2 separate regions of the Homo sapiens genome follow, and region 1 is linked to region 2. The links are contacts of gene promoters, found by promoter capture Hi-C in blood cells and fetal thymus (Javierre and others, 2016). All regions are on one chromosome and are shown on one strand. Each heading gives the region's core, a stretch centred on a gene start or on the middle of the fragment in contact. The rest is flanking DNA. Distances are from core to core; before and after follow the strand shown.

What was found. The method cuts DNA at HindIII sites, captures the fragments that hold promoters and counts their contacts. A CHiCAGO score of 5 or more calls a contact.
Region 1: a fragment that was not itself captured here is called in contact with the fragment with the promoter of FLT1 in region 2 in 1 of 17 cell types (M2 macrophages); the score reaches 5.6 in M2 macrophages.

The regions. Positions count from the first base shown.
Region 1 is chr13:28,795,257-28,800,033 of GRCh38, forward strand. No RefSeq gene overlaps it. Among named protein-coding and RNA genes, the nearest start is that of MTUS2, 23 kb to the right of the region's middle. The HindIII fragment of the contact is 3,819 bases long and covers 539-4,357 here.
Region 2 is chr13:28,493,008-28,497,610 of GRCh38, forward strand. It overlaps FLT1 (fms related receptor tyrosine kinase 1), which reads right to left and starts at 2,121. Exons shown (of 30, transcript NM_002019.4): 1 at 1,773-2,121. The coding sequence starts at 1,836. RefSeq lists silencers at 1,607-1,656, 1,737-1,856, 1,977-2,026. The HindIII fragment of the contact is 4,512 bases long and covers 507-4,603 here.

The DNA.
Region 1 (4,777 bases), core at 1,198-3,697, 300 kb after region 2:
AGTAGGCACCTTGCCATCAGCCAGTAGGTTATCAAGACATTTATTCTCACTTCAACATTTGAGTGTTTACACATACTAGCAGTGGTTCTAGGAGCTGCAGATAGTCATGAACAAAAAAACTCCCCCACAAATCCTGCTCCCATGGACAGTCTATTATTAGTAGTAGTAGTATTTTTGTAGAGGCAAGATCTTGCTATGTTGACCAGGCTGATCTGGAACTCCTGGCCTCAAGCGATCCTCTTGCCTTGGCCTCCCAAAATGCTGGGATTACAGGCATGAGCTAAGGTGCCTTGCCAGACTGTCCAGTCAGAGCAGATAGACCAAAAGCAATCAAATAAATACACAAGACATCAGGAACGGATGATATGCGATATGAGGAAAAATAAAGCTGGTTAAAGGGTGAGATGTGCCTGGAGGGGGTTGCTATTTTAGCTGGAGAAAGCGTCCCTGATCTGAATGAAGGGAAGGAGGGGTCCTCATAGTCTCTGGGAAGGAGCAGTCCAGGGAAGCACACAGTTAAGGGCCCTATGGGAGAGCAAGCTTGGGTGTTCCAGGAACGTGGTGGAGATCAATATAGCCAGAGCCAGCAGGCAGAGAGGAGATTCTGTTCCTGATGGTAGTGAGCATCCCGGGGTGTAACAACCCCTTCTCTTCCAGGAACTAGAAAGCAGGCAGGTGACAGCACAGTCTGGGCTTAGGTGTACCAGCTGGTTGGCGTTGGTTAGGCTCAGAGAGTAACCAACCCTCTGGACAGGTGTGTGGCGAGGTACGCCGGCAGGGCCCCACGCTCTTAGGGGCCCCCCAACTTGGGCTTCAAGGCTCCATGGACACCATCTTGAAATTCTCAACACAGTTATCCTTCCTTTTGTTCTGTAAGTGAAGTCCGGGACAATGGGGCTTGTTCCCCAGGGCCTGGAGGCTCGGCTCCTGTGCGGTCCTGCCTCCTGCCTCCTCCCCACCTCGCGGACTTGGGTCTGGGTCACCTGTTCCTGCTCCTGCTCCTGCTCAGAACTGCTGCTGCCCTTCATCCTGAGAGGCCCGACACGGTGCCCCTGCCGCCCTCCACCAGACGGGCAGGGCAGGGTGGGGGCAGGGCCAGGCATGACCCTCTGCACGCCTAACCACAGGGCGGGCCCTTGGTGCCCTAAGGGTCTGTCCCCAGCCTGCCAGCATCTCTGTGCGTGAGGGAGTGTGACATTAAATAGCAAACAAAACATCTGGACAGGTCAACTGAGAGAGACTGCAGAAGAAACGCTTTTTTTCTCTTTTTTAACAAGGGACCCGCATTTCCATTTTATGCTTGTCCCTGGGTGATCTTCTTGACCAGGAATGATGTCACCCACCCCTTGGCCGCCGCTTTCTCTCCGTGGACCTCCGGTGAAGTTGGCTTTTTTTTTTTTTTTTTTTGAGACGGAGTCTCCCTCTGTCGCCCAGGCTAGAGCGCAGTGGCGCGATCTCGGCTCACTGCAAGCTCCGCCTCCCGGGTTCACGCCATTCTCCTGCCTCAGCCTCCCGAGTAGCTGGGAAGATGGCTTTTAAAGCGGGTGAACACTCTTGCACTTTCCCGTGGGGGCTGTTGCCCTCTGCTGGGCAAACCAGGAATTAGCTCTACCTCAAAATCTGTGAAGAAAATGCTCCCTATTCCAGTTTCAAAACCCAATTTGAGACAATGGTTTGAGCATCAGTTTTCTCCATCTGCACTTTTGAAGGCTGCTGCAGATTTGAATAGCCAGTTCTAAAGTGAATTACCTTGTAAGCAGGTGACTTTTGCTTAAAACCAAGCAGTCACAAACTTTAGTATCCAGATCTACCATGTAAAGTACAGCAGAAACACAACATGTTGAGCAGTTGGTTCCACTGTTGAATTGTGCCATCATATAACCTTGCTTACTGTGTGTGAAGTATTCTTCATAATCTTTAAAAGTTATTGGAATGGGCCTACACCTTAATGGTACTTTTGTTCAGGGCTTAAATAATGTAATCAGGCCAGGTGCGGTGGCTCACGCCTGTAATCCCAACACTTTGGGAGGCTGAGGCGGGCGGATCACGAGGTCAGGAGATCGAGACCATCCTGGCTAACACGGTGAAACACCGTCTCTACTAAAAATACAAAAAAATTAGCCAGGCGTGGTGGTGGGCGCCTGTAGTCCCAGCTACTCGGGAGGCTGAGGCAGGAGAATGGCATGAGCCCGGGAGGCGGAGCTTGCAGTGAGCCAAGACAGCACCACTGCACTCCAGCCTTGTCGACAGAGTGAGACTCTGTCTCAAAAAAAAAAAAAAAAAAAATGTAATCACTCCCATTTCCAAGTTCTCAACATGTGGTGACTTTTAATTTTATTGGACATAGGGAGAATTACCTGAGAAATAGTACTTTAATGATTTTAAGGCATAAAGAATTTTATATTTAACCATTAAATCACGGACTCTATGATAACCTTTCTTTTCTGGCAATGATGGTACCAAAACCATAGGAAAATACTCTGTTAAACCTGGTGGACTTTTGCTGTCTTTTCCCTATTTCACTCTGTGTGTGTGTGTGTGTGTGTGTGTGTGTGTGTGTGTGAGAGAGAGAGAGAGAGAGAGAGAGAGAGAAATTGTAAAGCATAAGTAAAAACTGAAAGATGGCCAGGCAGTGGCTCATGCCTGTGATCCCAGCATTTTGGGAGGCTGAGGCAAGTGGATGACTTGAACCTCTGGAGTTTGAGACCAGCCTGGGAAACATGGTGAAACTCCATCTCTACAAAAAAATACAAAAATTAGCTGGGCATGGTAGTGTGTGCCTGTAGTCCCAACTACTCAGGAGGGTGAGTGGGAGGATCACCTGAGCCCACTGAGATTAAGGCTGCAGTGAGCTGTGATTGTGCCACTGCACTGCAGCCTGGGCAACACAGGGAGACCCTGCCTAAAAAAAACTGATGAAAGATGAGCTTCCTCTGTGTATAAGCACAGGAGTGTGATTTACACCACGGAAGTCCCTGTCTAGACTCTACTGTGTGCTAAGCACAGTGGCATGCGCTTCATACATTTTGTCTCATTTAGCAACATTGCAAGGCAGATATTGTATTTCCCGTAGAAAACTGACAATCAGTGAATTTAAATAATGTGCCCTAGGTTGTTAAGCTAGAAACTGATATTTTGCCCTCAATGCCAGATCCACCTGACTCCAAAAACCCCTGTTTTTCCACTGTGCAATGTGGTTGCCTAATGAATGATTCTAACCCTGGTTAGTTTTGTAGAGAACTAAAGCCCTAAGCAGGTGTTCAGGGGAAGAGCTGGACTTGGACTCCATGTTTCCTACCCTAATCCAATTTATTAAATTGCTAGAATAACTTAGCTTTAGGAAGTGGGGATGATCCTTTAAAATTCCCCCTTTCTTATCTCCTATGTGGTGTTTGGGTCCTCCAAAAATTATCTAGATTGAGAGATATAAAAGAATGACCATTTTGGCCAGGAGTGGTGACTCACGCCTGTAATCCCAGCACTTTGGGAGGCCAAGGCAGGCGGATTGCTTGAGCCCAGGAGTTCAAGACCAGCCTGGGCAACAGGGCGAAACCCTGTCTCTACCAAAAATACAAAAGTCAGCCAAGTGTGGTGGTGGGTGCCTGTAATTCCAGCTACTCGGGAGGCTAAGGAAGGAGAATCACTTGAACCTGGGAGGTGGAGGTTGCAGTGAGCCAAGATCACACCACTGCACTTCAGCCTGGGCTACAGAGCAAGACTCTCTCTCAGAAAAAAAAAAAAAAAAAAAAGAATGACCATGTCAACAACAGTTGAAGTGGATTATATATTGATCTTGGTCTAACTGTTCTGGAGAACAGAAGCTAAGCAAATAGGCCACCCACTTTAACATCAACCAGTGTAACCATCCAATGAGTTGATCAATCAGCCAATATTTATTGAGCATCTCCTATGTGATAAGGACCAAGATAGGTATTAGACAACTGGAAATAAATAAGGCATGAGGTCAGCCAAAGGGGACGAACAAACATGTAAACAAAAGTACATTGCAATGCAAGTTCTACACACACACAGCTACGGGACTACAGAAGGAAGAGCAACAGATTCCACCTGGGAGAATGGGGGAAGGCTCCCCTGACGGACACTCACCCATGCCAGCATACCTTCAATATGGAGAAGCCATTTGCATGACATGTTTCTAGTTCTTTTAACAACAAAGTGTATATTCTTCCATTCCAGATTGTACAGGCAAGAGATTTCATAAGATAATCTAGAAACTGGAAATAGTAAATTTTTTTGAAAGCAGCTTCATTATTTTGGCTAATAAGTAACAGAGATGTGAATTACTATGAGGTTCTAGTAAATTTAGATTCTCTAGAGAAATTGGGCAGCAAATGAAAGCTTAATTTCAACTTGGTTAAACACAATGTAATTGGAATAGTTGCACTTTGGGAGGCTGAGGCGGGCAGATCACGAGGTCAGGAGATTGAGACCATCCTGGCTAACATGGTGAAACCCCGTCTCTACTAAAAATATAAAAAAATTAGCCCGGCGTGGTGGCAGGCACCTGTAGTCCCAGCTACTCGGGAGGCTGAGGCAGGAGAATGGCGTGAACCCGGGCGGCAGAGATTGCAGTGAGCCAAGACTGAGCCACTGCACTCCAGCCTGGGCGACAGAGCGAGACTCCATCACCAAAAAAAAAAAAAAAAAAAAAAAAAAAAAAAAAAAAAAAAAAAAAAAAAGAATTGGCATGCTAATTTAATTAAAAACTTAAGCCAGGTGCAGCGGCTCATGCCTGTAATCCCAACACTTTGGGAAG
Region 2 (4,603 bases), core at 871-3,370:
AAGAAAAATCACAAGAGGATCCCACTCACATTTCTGTAAAGTTTCCACTGATCTAAGATGCTTCCAATTACAAAGAAAACGATGCTTCACTAAAGTCAGCATGTTTTCAAAATAAAGATATAATTATGTGAAGCAGAAAATCTAATAAATCACGTACTTTTCCCTCCGTAATTTTAGATTCATGTAATTTAGCTAGATTTATCTTTACATAATAGTCGAGTGAGGTATTTAAATTCTCTAAGCAATTATATTTTAATACAAGTGACTTTTCAAAACAAAAAATGTATTTGTGAAATAGAAAATACAACATTTTATTTAATATAGTTATGTTAGCACCTTTCCCAACCTACAGTGAGTTCTCAGAAGTTACCACTTCGCCCTGTCTCCGGGTTTAGTAGTTTCTCCAATCTAATTGGAACTATTACTTGTTACTTGGAAACTGACGGTCTAGTTAGTCTTCCCACTGAGAAAGAATATTTAATTATTACTGCTTTTTGGGTTTAACAAGCTTTTTGTTGTTGTTGTTGTTGTACTACGCTCCATCCTATTGACTTTTCTTCCCGGGAATCATTGCAATGACTTATTTTATATTACTATATTTTATTTCATATTTTACCTTTTCTCCACGATGCTTAAAAGAAAGGCGCTCCGAAATCTGGCTCTCTGCGCCCAGGGGAACGAGGCACAAATCTCCGCCACTCAGCCCCACTGAGCAGAGACTGCGAGTCCGAACCCTCAAGTTCCTCGGGGCTTTGACCCCTCAATGGCGGCGGTCTAACTGCTGGTAAAACCCCCGGCCCCTGACTGTTCCACCGCCCGTCTCCCAAACGCCCAGCGAAGGCTGACTTAGGTGGCGGGCGGACCTCATCGATTCCTCAAACCACATCGTTTGGTCAAAATCGCCCGCCCTCTCTTCGCTCGGATTTTAAAGGCTAGGCTTGTAAGTCAGTAAGTTAACGGTATTTGGGCCCTGGGCTGCCCTTGTGGGTCAGGGTCACTGATGTCCGCGACACGGACTGGACCGCGCACCACGCCTGCTCCCGGCAGAGGCCCCACCCGGGTGGCTGAGCGCAGCGCACTGGGGCCCCGCGGTCCGAGAGCGGCGGGGAGGAGCGGGCGCTCGCCGAGCGTTCCCCGGGACAGTCCGGCTTGGGGACTCAAGCGGGTCATGGGATGCCGGCGCTGGCCCTCTCCTGAGATCCTCCTGCTCCCCCGCAGGCACGAGTCCCCTCCAAATCGGCTCCCCTCCTACACTCTCGTGACGCGAGGTCGCGGCCAGTGCCCAATATCACCAAAGTCCCGGCCTCAGCCCAGCCCCGGGCAGCCTGGCAGGCTTTCAGGAGCCTCTGCTCCCGGCTCCGGGGGACCCTGCGTACCTGCCCCAGGTCCTCTGGGAATGGGCTCTGGGTGCCAGGCAGGTCCCGGTGCGTGCTGCTCCTAGTGCCCAGGGCCTCGGCAGTGAGACCCCAACCCGACAGCTGGATAAGGGATCAGCGATCCTGTCGCAAACGGACAGCCCCAGCGCGGACCCGGTCTGAGCGCTGATGCTCGCGGGTCCAGGCCAGCCACTCCTCGAGGCGCTCCCTCGGAGAAAGGGCGCAGCGGCCCCAAGCGTGCCCGCTGCAACTAGTGTCCCAGGTTCTCGCCGTAGCCAGCTTCTCCGGGCTACAGCCTCGTCTCCCCGCGTGCACCCCGCCCTGGCCTCGGAGGCTCTGCCCTCCGGCCGCCCCATCGCAGCCCGCCTCAGGCCCCGGCCCCCAGCCGCGCCTCACCTGTGAGAAGCAGACAGCTGAGCAGCGCGCACAGCAGGACCCCGGTGTCCCAGTAGCTGACCATGGTGAGCGCGACGCGGCCTGCTCGCCCGGTGCCCGCGCTCCCCGCGGCCAACGACCCGGCCGCCAGAGTCCGTCCTCTCGTTCGCCGCCGCCGGCCCCGCGCCCTGAGCGCCCGTCTCGCGGCTCCAGCCAGGAGACAACCACTTCCCCGGGTAATCCTCGCCGCCAGGCGCCCGCTGGCCGCTGCACCCGAGCCCCGGAGCCCGCTCCGAGCCGCCGCCGCTGCCGGGGAGGAGCCGAGAGGAGTGTCCGCCTGGCGCGCTCCGAGCCTCCCGCGGACCTCGATGAAGAGCAGCCGAGGGCGGGGGCGATTTATAACCTTTCCCCAGCCCACTTCCTACCCCGGCACCTCCTTCTGGTGACGTCAAGGGGTCCCCCACCCCTCATCCGCCTCCCCACCTACCCTCTTCTTCCTCCCAGGCTCGCTTCCCTGCGGCTACGGAGAGGGGCGGGGGCCGACGAGGGCGGGTGGCCCGGGGCCGAGCGCGCGTGGGGAGGTGCTGGCGACGCGGGCCCGGGAGCGCGGCCCCGGCAGGTTCAGGGTCTTTGCTCCGCGCCCTCTTGCCCTTGCCCCTCCTCCTGCCCATCGCGCTCAGGAAATCCTTGCAGACTCCCTCCACCCGGCTTACTCAGCTCTGGGGGCCGCCCGAAACTGGGGAAGGGACAAGGCTGAAGCTCCGCCGCCTGGCCCTAGGGGCGGAAAGTCCGATCCAAGGGAAGCTGGCCGCGCCTCCGCGACGGTGTTCTTGGCACGGAGGACTGAGGCGCAGTCCGGCTGTCTCCCCTTGCCTGCTCTTCCCGCGCTGTCCCGCCGCTCCTGACCCCTTCAGACTGTCCCGAGAAGTCTAGGAAGGCACCGGAGACCCTCGGCACAAGGCACTGAACCTGGAGCGCCTGAGGGGAACTGACGCTTGCTTGGCACCTTTGGGAAGACTGCGAACCAGCTCAGGTCCCAGGGGAGCGTGTCCGTGTCTTTTTCGGCCGCATTGATGCACCCGCCCAAGTCATTTCCTCAGTCTTCTGCTTCCTAGAAGCAAAACAAGGAATAACATTATGATACCTTTAAAAAGCTGAGGCGTGAAACTGCTCCTGCAACTTGGAAGCGCAGGGCACTTGAACTTTATTCCCTAAATGCTCGAAAAAGAAATCTTTCTGGTGGCAGCTTGCTACTCAAGATGAGTGACTCTGACCACAACCGGCTGAAATTAACTTGAGGCCCTAGATCATTTGCTATGACACTAATTCCACGTTGTTCCTCAATTATGTCTCCATTACCTCAAAGGCTGAAGTCGTCCTGGCTGCACGGAGCAGCCCAGTCTTGTCTCTGTAAATACCGCAGATTTGAAAAATAGTCCTATTGGAACCCGTCAGAGGGATGTAATACAAGGGACTGTGATGGCTCTTGAACGGAGCCAGAGACTCTTCCTGAAGGACTGGACTACCTCCCCGCCTAGGAAGGTTGGGTAACCCAAAGTTGCCACATTTCTGGGCTGCACACCAAGGAGAGGCCCCGGCCACTCCACACAGGAAATGCACGTCTGGGCACCTGGAGCCGCAGGACCTGAGCCACTAACTGTCCCTGGATCCCTTCTGCTTCAGAGGCAAGGAAGACTGCCGGAGTCATTGCTTGCCTGCTGGCTTCACCAGCGCTTTCTGTTTTTCCAGTTCTCCTCACCACTCTTCCTGGCGCCTTTCTCTGCCTCCCGCACCCCTGCCTCCTCTAAAACCCACAGCATCATCCCTCAGAACAGCTGGAAGCGGACAGCTGATCCTTCTCCTTGCTGGTCCCCCAGCCCAGAACACAGCCTGGGACATACGTGCGGAGCCACAGTGTCTGTTGGTCTCACCTGAGAGCTGCTTGTCACTCCCACACCCTCTTTCAAGGAGAAGCTGTCAGCATTGTCCTTCTGCAGCATTCAACAGGGGCCAGGCATTGGGTTAGGGCTGAAAACACTGATGGAGAGCCATCATCTTTGCCTTCTAAAGGGCTTGGACTGTGATAAGAAGGTGGACACTTGAAGTGGCTGCAGGACCGGCATTCCAGTGCTGGAGGGGTGTTTAGTCCTCCATCAGCTCAGAGAAGTAAAGGCACATTTATTGGCAGGGAAAACCCAAGGAGGGCTTCTCAGGAGAGACACACATTTGACTCTGGGGGAAAGTGGTCCATAGTACCATGTACAAAGGTTTAATTTGCTAATACATTTTTTCAAATGCCATTTTGATATTTTTAACTCATAAAGAGACAACACTTTCCAAACCTGCTGCCAGCAATGAATCTACATTGTGTCTGTAAAGCCAGAACAGGTATTTGATGGACAGCTGAAACAATCTTTATAATCTAAGATGCTAATCAATGATATTAACATGTTGCTCAATTATTTAAGGTTAGTAGAGTCACAGTCGAATCTAAGATTTATATTAAAACTATGCTGCAGTAAGGGTGGGCTTCCACATTTCCCAACTACTCTTTTGAAAAGTTGCTTTTAATTAGAGTCAGCAATTTATTGACTATGACTTCTTTGTTAGTTGCATTAGCGTTCTCACAAAGAACTCAAAAATGCTACAAATTTTAGCTTAGATATGGGGAATAAATGTATAGCTCCCAATCCTCTCCCCAAAAGAGATAATACCTTTGAATGAGAATGGGCTATAGCACTCTCCTAACTAAATCACTAATGAAAGAGGTTTTATAGATAATACTGATGGAGAAGATGGAATTCAACACGCCTGGTGGGTATAAAAAGCTATTGAAGTAGGCAATCTGCTTG